Regions from separate parts of the Homo sapiens genome. Here region 1 is linked to region 2. The links are contacts of gene promoters, found by promoter capture Hi-C in human tissues and cell types (Jung and others, 2019). All regions are on one chromosome and are shown on one strand. Each heading gives the region's core, a stretch centred on a gene start or on the middle of the fragment in contact. The rest is flanking DNA. Distances are from core to core; before and after follow the strand shown. Region 1 has its middle 68 kb from the start of TACC1. Region 2 holds the start of EIF4EBP1 (eukaryotic translation initiation factor 4E binding protein 1).

Evidence for each region. Contacts are between HindIII fragments. The study calls those that stand out against the background at their distance.
Region 1: a contact is called between a fragment that was not itself captured here and the fragment with the promoter of EIF4EBP1 in region 2, in 1 of the 25 tissues and cell types used here (lymphoblastoid cells).

The regions. Positions count from the first base shown.
Region 1 is chr8:38,715,989-38,722,328 of GRCh38, reverse strand. No RefSeq gene overlaps it. Among named protein-coding and RNA genes, the nearest start is that of TACC1, 68 kb to the left of the region's middle. RefSeq lists enhancers at 653-832, 973-1,022, 2,175-2,696. The HindIII fragment of the contact is 4,887 bases long and covers 2,416-6,340 here.
Region 2 is chr8:38,025,658-38,031,962 of GRCh38, reverse strand. It overlaps EIF4EBP1 (eukaryotic translation initiation factor 4E binding protein 1), which reads right to left and starts at 1,429. Exons shown (of 3, transcript NM_004095.4): 1 at 1,245-1,429. The coding sequence starts at 1,389. RefSeq lists enhancers at 609-708, 1,338-1,632 and a silencer at 1,209-1,648. The HindIII fragment of the contact is 9,944 bases long and covers 1-5,132 here.

The DNA of each region.
Region 1 (6,340 bases), core at 3,610-6,109, 690 kb before region 2:
ACTCTTGCTTTATTCCAGGTACATTGCAAGGTGCAGGAGCTAAGACTCCAGTAGAGAAAGCAACTAACCAAACAGATCTCATAGGCGGTTCTGGGCACTATAATAGGATATAGCGGTATGATAACGGCCCATCTAGGGCAGAGGTATACGACGTGGCAAATCTGCTGGAGCAGCAGGTGTCTGTGGCCAATAAGGAGCTCCTGAAAGGTTTGGAGAGTGCCATGTTTGAGAATGGATGTTCGGAGATGCTGAGAATGGTAAAATTGGCATTTAACAATAGAATTTCTGGCAATTGGATGAAAGAGAAAATTTTTAAAAGAAATTTTTTAAAAAATTATTTTTGTAGAGACGGGGGTCTCCCTATATTGCCCTAGCTGGTCTTGAACTCCTGCGCTCAAGCAAGCCTCCAGCCTTGGCCTCCCAAAGTGCTGTGATTACAGGCATGAGCCACCTCGCCTGTCCCAACCTCTTACTTTATTCCCGGTACATTTCAAGGTGCAGGAGCTGAGTCCAGTAGAGAAAGCAAGCAAGCAAACAAACAAATCTCATTGACGGTTCCAACGTTATTATTGTTGTTTTGTTGTTGTTATTATTTTGAAGGATAGTTATGTAACAGCAATTTAGTAACCACTTCCTGGCTCCTGAAATGTCATTTGCAGAGTCGCAGAAAGACAATTCCGTTGCCCTCCTTTAAGAGTCCATTACCAGGACAATAAACTCCGTTTTCTGGGGGAGTCAGGTGATATTCTCACATATGTCCAGTAGGTGGAGGCATTGCTGTTCCAGAAAGAAAACTCTTCTTTGCAAACTTGGTCTGATTGCCATTGCCGCTGAGCACCGGAGGGACTGCCATTTACTCCTTTTTGTACCGGACAGCAGGAAGCAGGCCAGAATTATGCAGTAGAGAGCGCATGGATCTTGCAACCCAACACCGCCGTGTCCTAACCTGGACTCCTCCGCCCAGTAGAGTGACCTTGGGCACATTACTTCACCTCTTTGAATCTCAGTTACCTCATCCAAAAGGTGATGGTTTTGTAGGTCCGCGATCCCTTATCCACATTTCCAAACTTCCCCACTCTGGAAACCACAAGCATTTCGTAACTGTGGGGCAGCAAAACCTGACCTCAACTGACCTGAAGTTACGTACTATCCTACTTAGCTTGAATATTCTTACATTTCGCTGCAGAAAGGGTTTATATGTTTGATTACAAGGTGCTCCCCTAGCCCACTCGGGGTTTGATATAATAAAAGGTATATTGGGTTGTGTCACTGTGTGCGGAATTGGTGGGTTCTTGGTCTCACTGACTTCAAGAATGAAGTCGGGGACCCTTGCGGTGAGTGTTACAGTTCTTAAAGGCAGCGTGTCCGGAGTTTGTTTGTTCTGATGTTTGGATGTGTTCGGAGTTTCTTCCTTCTGGTGGGTTTGTGGTCTCGCTGGATCAGTAGTGAAGCTGCAGACCTTCGTGGTGAGTGTTACAGCTCTTAAGGCGGCGCGTCTGGAGCTGTTCGTTCCTCCCGGTGGGTTCGTGGTCTCGCTGGCTTCAGGAGTGAAGCCGCAGACCTTCACGGTGAGTCTTACAGCTCATAAAGGCAGTGTGGACCCAAAGAGTGAGCAGCAGCAAGATTTATTGCAAGGAGCAAAAGAACAAAGCTTCCATAGTGTTGAAGGGGACCCCAGCAGGGTGCCACTGTTGGCTCCAGCAGCCTGCTTTTATTCTCTTATCTGGCCCCACCCACATCCTGCTGATTGGTCCATTTTACAGAGAGCAGAGTGGTCTGTTTTGACAGGGTGCTGATTGGTGCGTTTACAATCCCTGAGCTAGACACAGAGGTTCTCCACCTCCCCACCAGATTAGCTAGATACAGTGTGGACACAAAGGTTCTCCAAGTCCCCACCAGAGTAGCTAGATATAGAGTGTCCATTGGTGCATTCACAAACCCTGAGCTAGATAGACACAGGGTGCTGATTGGTGTGTTTACAAACCTTGAGCTAGATACAGAGTGCAGATTGGTGTATTTACAATCCCTTAGCTAGACATAAAGGTTCTCCACGTCCCCACCAAACTCAGGAGCCCAGCTGGCTTCACCCAGTGGATCGGGCACCGGGGCTGCAGGTGGAGCTGCCTGCCAGTCCCACGCCGTGCGCCTGCACTCCTCAGCCCTTGGGTGGTCGGTGGGACTGGGCGCCGTGGAGCAGGGGGCGGCGCTCGTCGGGGAGGCTAGGGCCGCAAAGGAGCCCACAGAGGCGGGGGAGGCTCAGGCATGGCGGGCTGCAGGTCCCGAGCCCTGCCCCGCGGGAAGGCAGCTAAGGCCCGGCGAGAAATTGAGCCCAGCAGCTGCTGGCCCAGGTGCTAAGCCCCTCACTGCCCGGGGCCGGTGGGGCCCGCCAAGCCCATGCCCACCCGGAACTCGCGCTGGCCCGGAAGCACCGCGCGCAGCCCCGGTTCCCGCCCGCGCCTCTCCCTCCACACCTCCCCGCAAGCTGAGGGAGCCGGCTCCGGCCTTGGCCAGCCCAGAAAGGGGCTCCCACAGTGCAGTGGCAGGCTGAAGGGCTCCTCAAGTGCGGCCAAAGTGGGAGCCCAGGCAGAGGAGGCGCCGAGAGCGAGCGAGGGCTGTGAGGACTGCCAGCACGCTGTCACCTCTCATTACCTTCCTAAAACCTGAGAAAATCCAGAATCCCGAAGTACACCCGGCTCTAGGGTAAGAGATTGTAAATCTGAACTACTGACTGTAAAGGGAGGGAGGAGGGAGGAAAGAAGGGAGGGAGGAGGGACGAAGGTACTTTAGTGAAATTGATCTTATCTTGTTTCTCCCCTAGCCATTATCAATAACACACATACTTCTACAAAAGGAGGACTTCCATTCCAAATACAAGATATTATGTACTTTTTCATTTCTCTCTTTAGGGTTCCCTCCACCATCCATTCGGTTGCACACACCGGAAGGGCGTAAAGGGTTTTATAAGGATGAAGGGAGACACCTTGCCTGAAGCACCTGGGCGGCCCCAAGGACTCTTCTTCCTCCTACCCAAGCCAATCAGACTTGGAGTCCTGGCAAATCAGAGAAATCCCGGGGGAAAAACAAAGAATCTCTGTTGATACACTCACATCATTCATTCATTTGATACATACATATTAAGCACCTACTTAATATGTGCCAGATACTCTGTGATTAATAAGCTTATTGTCTCCTGCTGACCCTGTGCCATCCCCGGGTAGACTCGGGGATTGTCTTGGGCTCTGCAAATTACTCAGCACTTTGGGAGGCCAAGAGGAGAGGATCACTTGAGCTCAGGAGCTTGAGACCAGCCTGGACAACACGACGAGACCTTGTCTCTACAAAAAAATTTTAAAAATTAGCCAGGAGGATGGCTTGAGGCCGAAAGTTGCTGACCAGCCTGGGCAACGTAGTGAGACTCCTTTCTACAAAAAAAAAATTAAAAATTAGGTGGGTGTGGTGGCGGGTGCCTGTAGTCCCAGCTACTCAGAGGCTGAGGTAGGAGCATTGCTTGAGCCCAGGAGGTCAAGGCTGCACTAAGTCATGATTGCGGCACTGCACTCCAGCCTGGGATACAGACTGAGACCCTGTCTCAAAACAGAAGAAGAAGGAGAAGGAGGAGGAAGAGTAGGAGGAGGAGGCTACAGCAGGTGCTGCTAAAGGGAAGAGGAAAAACCCACTCGTAGACTCAGTCCATAGCTGTCTTTTCCACCATCCCTAAACTTTTAATCATATCCTTGATTTTCACTCTGAAGATTTCACCTGTTTAAAACTTCTGCCCTTGGGGAGACATGGCTGATGGAGGCAGAAGGTGGGACTTGAATGCAGCTCTCACCTGGGCATTTCTTGACTCTCTGGAGTAAATAGCATGAAGGCCTGGGAAATTCACCTGCTGCCAATTTGATGTCTGCTTTAGATGCACCACCAGTATAATGGAGATCACAACTCCTGGCCCCACCCACTTCACCATCCCTTTTATGGCTTTTCTCTTCCTGTCTCTCCATGCTCCAGGCAGATCCAAGTTCTTGCAGTTCTTCGAATGTGTCCAACTCTGCTGCCTTCTTTGCCTTTGCACATGCTGTTCCCTTGTCCTAGAACCGCTCCTTCTCTCCTGTTTAATTCCCGGTAGTCCTTCTGCAGAGCCCAGGGCTCAACGACTCCAGATGCCTTCCCTACCCTTCCTTTCTGTCAGTGCTGGGCCATCCTGTGGGATCCTATGCACACTTCCGTCATAGCACCACACACACTGCGTAGGGGTCATCAATGTCAGTGTCTCCACCCTGCCCACCACAAACAGGCAGTGGGAGCTCCTTGGGGGCACACCCTGTTCTTTACGTCTTCAGCATCACTGGGCTTGTCCACAAAGGAGGCACTCAATAAATGTTGGATGATTACATGAATGACGGTGGAGATCAATATTATTATATTTATGAAAGAGCTCTGAGCTCTTGGGAATATGACCATATTCTACATTGCAGAAAATGACATAAATCTGCAGCCGTTGCAAGAAGAAATCTGAGACTTATTTTAATGTCAGGTCCTCGCCCTGCACAACCTATTACTCATCCCTGGTGCAGAGGCTGTGTTTGTGGGAAGCACACCAGGCAGAAAGTCTCAAAGCCTGGGATCCGGCCCACGTCTGTCACCAGCCAGCTGTGTGATCATTGAGGGTCACATGTCAGAACCCTCACTTCCCTTATCAGGGCAACAAAGAATCAGAGCCGCTGAACAACTTCTTTCTTGTTCTGATATTCTGTTATTTTATTTTGAGCGCATTGAGCTATGAGTTCACAGAATGCACGATGACATCTAAGCAAACTTGCTAGTTTTAAAAATAGGCCATGTACGTGAATGTGCATTGAAGTGTGCACCAAGACAAGGATTGTGGACAACAATACTGTGGCCAGGGTGGTGGTCAATTGGCAGATTGTCCTGCAAACCCTCCTACCTTTGCAGTTTGATTCCTTTTTTGTCTTCAGAAAGTCCTCTCTTAAAATTCAAATTTTTCTGGGTCCCATTTCATTACCTTAAAATCCTAGGATTTCAAGCTAGAAAGGATTTAGCAAGTAATACTTCAGTTATCCCATCAAAACCTTGCAGGGATTGTTGACAGGCAACTGGGATGAGACAGGCTCTTAGTGGCACCTGGGTAATCAGCCCCAGTGACGCTGCAGGCTGTTGATAGGGAGAGAGGAAGATACTTAAGTGAAATTGATCCTACCTTGTTAGTTTCTCCTCTAGCCATTATCAGTAACACATGTACTTCTACAAAAGCAGGACTTGCGTTCCAAATACAAGGTATTCTGTACTTCCCCACTTCTCTCTCTAGGGTTCCCTCCACCATCCACTCAGTTGCACACACCAAAGACCTGGAAACCATTGTCTCCTTTCCCCGCCTCTCACACGCAGTCTGTCAGCAAATTCAATCCTCTCTTCCTTCAAATATGTCCCCTATCTGCCCGCATATCATCACCGCCACTGCTGAAACTCAGGTGAAAGTCATGTCATCATGTCAGAGCGAATGCAACAGCCCCCTCCCTTGTTCTCTTGCATCTACTCTTGTTCCCCTAAAGACCATTCTCTAGAGAGCAGACAGGACCATCATCTCCCGTTGAAAACCCTCCAATCAGTTTCCATTGCTAGTCCAGTGAGATCCAAACTCCTTACCACATTGGCACGGCCCCTGCCTACCTCTCAACCTCTGTCCAAGGCCCAGGCACTCTGGCCTTTCTGTCCCTCACACAAGCCAAGCATTTTGCTCTTTCAGGGCTTAGAACGTGTTATTACCTCTTTCTCCAGATCTTCATACACACCCCAACCTCTAACACTAGTGGGGTCCAGGAACAAGGGCCGGAATGGAAACCCATAAACCATATCTCCAAGTATTTAAAAGTTATAGATCACTCTAAAACCTATCACATAAAACATGTTCCAGCCTCTTAACATGTCAAATGCCTTCATAATGACAAAATTGAAAAATATGTGTAAACACATGGTTTTGATGACTGCAAGTTAGCAAAATACAAAAGAAAATTAAATTTATTACTGTGCATATTTAACTGTTCTGTTGATTGGTTGGTGATATTTGAATGAGTAATAAAAATAGAGACATATGTATTATCTATGACTTATATGTTTATTCCACAAAGTTTATTTTTTGTTTCATTTCGATGTAATCACTAATATAATCATTTTCAAATAATTGTGTTATATTGAGATGAATGATATAAAATATTTTTTAAAATGTTATTGTCCTCAAAGTGTAAAAAATTAAAATATATTATCATTAAAATATAACTGAAAGTAAATATTTGAAAATTAAAATAGTTTTCATATATCATTT
Region 2 (6,305 bases), core at 180-2,679:
CCCCTGCGAGCTTTTCCTTGGCTCATTTCTAATAGAAAAGGAAGCATTTCTCCCTTCTCTGCCTGGTTGCTATTTCTTGTCCAATCTGGGAAAACGGTGTGACAATGGGCAACAGACACGTGTTCAAGCTCTGGGGCCTCAATGCCGGGCTCTGTAGAATAAGACGGCAGGGCTGGACAAGATCCCTAACCGTTCTAACAGTGTATGTTTTGGATCAAACAGCAGAGGACCTCGGATCTGGCCGCGCTCGCTGCTGGTGGGACAGCTGCCTGAGAAAATAAGCATGTGGCCCCCGCCCGCCACCTAGCCAAGCGCCAGGATCTGTCGCGTTTTCTAGTAGTATGGAAAGCAGCGTGGAGGAGAATGAAGGGAGAGGAGCAAAAAGGGGTGGGGGCAGTGCGACAATGAGAGGGGAGGAGAGAGCCACGAGGATTTATTTCATCATGCAAACAGGCGCGTAGGTTTCATCAGCGTCTGTGCGCTGGGGCTCCGGGGCTGGGAGGGAATGCCAGGTTCCTGAGGGCAGCCCGAGGCTGGCCCCCCCACCCGTGCCAGCTCAGCTTCCTCTTCCTCATCCTCTCCCAGGGAGGTCACACGGTGCCTCCTCCTCTCCCCGGACAGAAGAACGTGTTTTTCTGCACAGCCCTGGCCGTGGCGCCAGGGTCCCCCCCGCGGAGATCCCACTCGCGTAAATGGGGAACGTGCCACAGGTGCCCGGGAGGCGCTGCTGGAGCAGGCAAGCACCCCCAGATCCGAACCTCAGTCAGAGCGCGCGAGTCCAACACAAAACTCGGCGTGCTTCGGGAAGGAAAAAGGGCCCTGCAGGAATCGTTTATCCCAACAGATAATACCCATCCCATAAAAACACCAGGCCAGGCCTCTCCTGGATCGTGGGCCACCCTAACTCCGCCCTCTCCCGCTTCGGGAGCGCCCCCAACACCCACAAGGGGCAGCACAGCTCGGCATGTGGCTGTCCTGGAGGCGTGCGTGTTTGTTAGGTGTCAGCTGTCTGACACCTAACAGAAAGAGGAAACAAACGGGGCAGTTTGTAACTCGGGTCTGGAAGACGCACTCAGAGGGGAAGCGGGCGGCCACTTCCATGACCCTCGCTGTCTCTCCGATGCCCCTTTTCCGTTCTTTCCAATCACGGCGCCCTTGAGCCTGGACACCCGGTCCAATCCGCGATTCCCGATCCTCCCGCCCGCCCAGGAGCCGGCAAGCGGCGTCGCCAAGCCCGCGCCTACCTCCCGGGGTGGTGCTGAAGAGCGTGCCGCCGGGGGTCGTGCTGTAGTCCCCGGGCGGGAGCTGCACGCCGTCGCCGAGCACCACCCGGCGAGTGGCGGGGATGGCCCGGCTTGGGGTCTGGCTGCAGCTGCTGCCCCCGGACATGGTCTCCTGTGCGCTGCACCCGCGAACCTCTCGCTGCCCTCCCGCGCCTCCAGCCTCGCTCCGCCTCGCCCCGTGCCGCCCCGCCCCAGGACGCCCCTTCCGCCTCTCCCGCCCCACGCCCCTGGGATTTGTAGTCCGCGCCGCAGCCCCACCCAGCTCCAGGACGCTGCTTCCACGTGGGATCCCCCGCCGCCCCCCGACCCACTCCCGTCTGCTCACGGGCTCTTCCGCACGGGCGCTGGCGCCGCCCCGCAGCGACTGCCCCTCCGTCCGGGGTCCCTCCCCGCCACGCTGGCAGGGACGGATATGGGGATGGCGGGCGGGATAGCTCGCCTAAATTAATCCTTGGCTGGGTTGGGGGCGGCGACTCAGGACCGCGCGGAGATCCGAGCTGACCCGGCCCACTGCAGGAAGGCCCGGTTTCTGCATTAGGACATCAGGCCTGGTGTACCCTTCGGCACTCCCTGTTTCGTGCCTTAGTTCCTCAGATGAGAAAATGGGGATTGAGTAGTTATGCTCACCGCCCCCCGCCCCGCTTCAATTTCTTGACCTTGATGGGGGTGGGGGTGGAGGGGCTAACAATTCCGTTCCCGGCCTTTAGAGAGGGTGTGGGAGGAGGAGTGAACCAACCAGCGGCGTCCTGGGAGCTAAATTTAGAGCTGGGGGCGCAGAGGTGGGTGGTGGGGAAGGGCGTTGGAGAGGAGTAAGAGTGTCGAAGAGGTTTCCCGATAGCCCCTGAATTGAGTCCAACGTCCACCTGAGGTTTAGTAGGTACTCCTTGGATGGATGGATGGATGGATGGATGGATGGATGGATGGATGGATGTTCAAGGGGAGAGAGAAAAATGCAAGAAGGACCGAGGATGGAAAAGCTTGTTGGGTTTGAGAAGTTCTTAGCATTATGGGCACATATTGTGGGGAAGAGGGTGAAGAGGGGAGGGCAGTTTAAAAGGGAAATTGGGTGGTGCACCTGTAATCCCAGCTACTCAGGAAGCTGAGGCTGGAGGATGCTTGAGCCCAGGGGTTTGAGGCTCCAGTGAGCTGTGATCACACCACTGCACTCCACCCTTTGTGACAGAGACCCTATCTCTAAAAAAATATATAATAATTTTTTAAAAAGGAAATTGGGGTCAGGTCGTTGAGTTTTTCAAATTATGCCAAAGTGCTTGGACTTTGTCTTAGAAGGGCAGGAGATATCAGAGATCTTTTAAGCAGGGGGATGACATGATTTGAGTTGTTTTTTGGAAGGATAACTAGTAGCCAGTGGAGTTTCAGAATGGGCCAAGGAGGGCAAGGCCTGAGATAGGGAGACCTGTTGAGTTTGGTCTCACTTTTGAGGGAAACTTTAGGCCTACAGTGGCTAAGACAGTAGCCACCAGCTACAGGTGCACATTGAGCACTCCAAATGTGACCAGTCCAAACTGTCACAAGTTTAACATACACACCATATTTCAAAGACTTAGTGTGAAGAAAATCATGTAAAATACCTGAATAATTTGTTTCTATATTGATTGTATGTTGAACTGATAATATTTTGAGTATACTGGGTTAAGAAAAATACATTATAAAAATTAATTTTGGGCCAGGCGCAGTGGCTCACGCCTGTAATCCCAACACGTTGGGAGGCCGAGGCAGGCGGATCATGAGGTCAAGAGATCGAGACCATCCTGGACAACATGGTGAAACCCTGTCTCTACTAAAAATATAAAAAAAATTAGCTGGGCATGGTGGCGCATGCCTGTAGTCCCAGCTACTCGGGAGGCTGAGGCAGGAGAATTGCTTGAACCTGGGAGGCAGAGGTTGCAGTGAGCTGAAATCATGCCACTGCACTCCAGCCTGGCGTCAGAGCAAGACTCTGTCTCAAAAGAAAAAAAAATAAATTTCGGCTGGGTGCAGTGGCTCACGCCTGTAATCCCACCACTTTGGGAGGCCTAGGCGGGTGGATCATGAGGTCAGGAGTTCAAGACCAGCCTGGCCAAGATGGTGAAACCCTGTCTCTACTAAAAATACAAAAAAACAAAACAAACAAACAAACAAACAAAAACAACAGACCGGGCACAGTGGCGGGTGCCTGTAATCCCAGCTACTCGGGAGGCTGAGGTGGAGAATTGCTTGAACCTGGGAGGCAGAGGTTGTAGTGAGTAGAGATCTGCCACTGCACTCCAGCCTGGGTGACAGAGTGAGACTCCGTCTCAAAAAAAAAAAAAAAAAAAAATTAATTTCATCCAGGTGCTGTGGATCACACCTGTAATACCAGCACATTTGGAGACCGAGGTGAGCAGACTGCTTGGGCTCAGGAGTTTGAGACAAGCCTGGGCAACATGGTGAAACTCTGTCTCTACAAAAAAATTTAAAAATTAGCCCAGTGTTGTGGCTCACACCTGTGGTCCCAGCTACTTTCAAGGATGAGGTAGGAAGATGACCTGAGCCCCAGAGGTGGAGGTTGCCATGAGCCAAGATTGCACCACTGCACTCCAGCCAGGGCTCAAAAAATAAATAAATAATATAAGATAAAAATAGACCAGGCCTTGCTGGTTGCAGCGATGTGCACTTGTAATCCCAGCCCTAGCTGGGATTACAAGGCCAGAGGATTGCTTGAGGCCGGGAGTTCAGAGACCAGCCTGGGCAACATAGTAAGACCTTGTTTCAAAAAAGAGAGAGTTTCAGGCCGGGTGTGGTGGCTCACGCCTGTAATCCCAACACTTTGGTAGGCCGAGGGGGGCAGATCACGAGGTCAGGAGATTGAGACCATCCTGGCTAACACGGTGAAACCCCATCTCTACTAAAAATACGAAAAAAAAAAATTACCCGGGCATGATGGCAGACGCCTGTAGTCCCAGCTACTCGGGAGGCTAAGGCAGGATAATCGCTTCAAACTGGGAGGCAGAAGTTGCAGTGGGCTGAGATCGTGCCACTGCACCCATCCTGGGTGACAGAGCGAGACTCCATCTCAAAAAAAAAAAGAGTTTCACTCTGTTGCCTGGGCTGGAGTGCAGTGGCTAATTATAGGCACAATCATAACTCAGTGCAGCTTCCAACTCCTGGGCTCAAGCCATCCTCCCACCTCAGCCTCCCCAGTGGCTGGGATTACAGGTGCATGCCACTGCACTTGGCTAATTAAAGAAAAGAATTTTTTGGCCGGGCGAGGTGGCTCATGCCTGTAATCCCAGCACTTTGGGAGGCCGAGGCAGACAGATCACCTGAGGTCAGGAGACCACCTGGCCAACATGGTGAAACCCTGTCTCTACTAAAAATACAAAAATTAGCCAGGCGTGGTGGTGTGTGCCTGTAATCCCAGCTACTCAGGAGGCTGAGACAGGAGAATCACTTGAACCCAGGAGGCATAGGTTGCAGTGAGCCAAGATCCTGCCACTACACTTTAGCCTGGGCAACAGCAAGACTCCATCTCAAAAAAAAAAAAATTTTTGTAGAAATGAGATCTTGCTATGTTACCTAGGTTGGTCTCAAACTCCTGGCCTCAAGTGATCCTCCCTCCTCAGCCTCTTAAAGTTTTGGGATTACAGGCATGAGCCACTGTGACTGGCCCCTCTACCTTTTTCTAGAGCAGGAACTCATTCATATGGAAAAAACAGCTTTTATCTGAGGAATGGGAATCCTTTTAAATTATCAGGCCTAGACATTAAAATGAGACAGCAATCACGTCCCACTACCCCCTTTTGAGCTATGTATTCATCTCTTGAAACTGCTTGCTATTGTCACAAGTAGCCATAAATTAACCTATTAATAATAATGCTGCACTAAAGACTATATAGGGTGTGGACACTATAACTTAACAGTGTATAGCCAAGGCTGGGTGCAGTGGCTTACTCCTATGATTTCCACACTTTGGCAAGCCAAGGTGAGAGGATGGCTTGAGGCCAGGAGTTTGAGACCAGCCTGGGCAACAGAGAGACCCTCCCCCTTCATCTCTACAAAAAAATTTTTAAAATGTGGCCGGGAGTTGTAGCTCACGCCTATAATCCTAGCACTTTGCGAGGCCGAGGCAGGCGGATCACCTGAGGTCAGGAGTTTGAGACCAGTCTGGCTAACATGGTGAAACCCCGTCTCTACTAAAAATGCAAAAAGTAGCCAGGTGTGGTGGTATGCGCCTGTAGTCCCAGCTACTAGGGAAGCTGAGACAGGAGAATCGCTTGAACCTGGGTGGCAGAGGTTGCACTGAGCCAAGATCACGCCACTGCACTCCAGCCTGGGTGACAGAGTGCCTCATCTCAAAAATAAAATAAAATTAAAAATTAAAAATCAATGTATGGAGAATGATTAATTGATACTATTTCTGTAAACCAATGAGATTTCTTGACAGACCACTTTGTATCAGAACCTATTGCCTTAAACTTGTAACTTGTAAACTTGTAATTCCTGTTAATTGGAGTGTATATTCAGGACATGAATCTATGCTCCTGGGTTGCAGTCCTCAAGTTTAGCCCAAATAAACTCCCTACTTATATTAATTTTGCCTCAGCTTCTTCCTTAGGTTGACAATATCAAGTCTTGTAATTGAGTAGAAAAGGACATAGGAAAAAAACCCAAATTCTTCTTCTTCTTCTCACATGTCCAACTCCACACTCAGACACCAGCTGGGTGAGGTTTCCTCCTTACACAGCAACCGAGCAATTTGGCCAAGGTAGATTCTCCAAGGGACACCAGCTCGATGTCCTCTAATTCAGTCAAATTCTGACATTATCTGCCTGGAGATAGTGCAAGATCCCACAGGTTAAGGGCTCAGTCCTACAAGACTGCCCCCCACTTGAGATGTCAGTCAAAAGTACAGCCTGTGATCTGTGCTTCTGACAACCCGGGCCTTGGGTTTGATTCATTTGCTAGAGTGGCTCACAAAACTCAGGGAAACACTTAGGTTTCCCGGTATTTTATAAAGAGTATTACAAAGAAGCAAGGCAC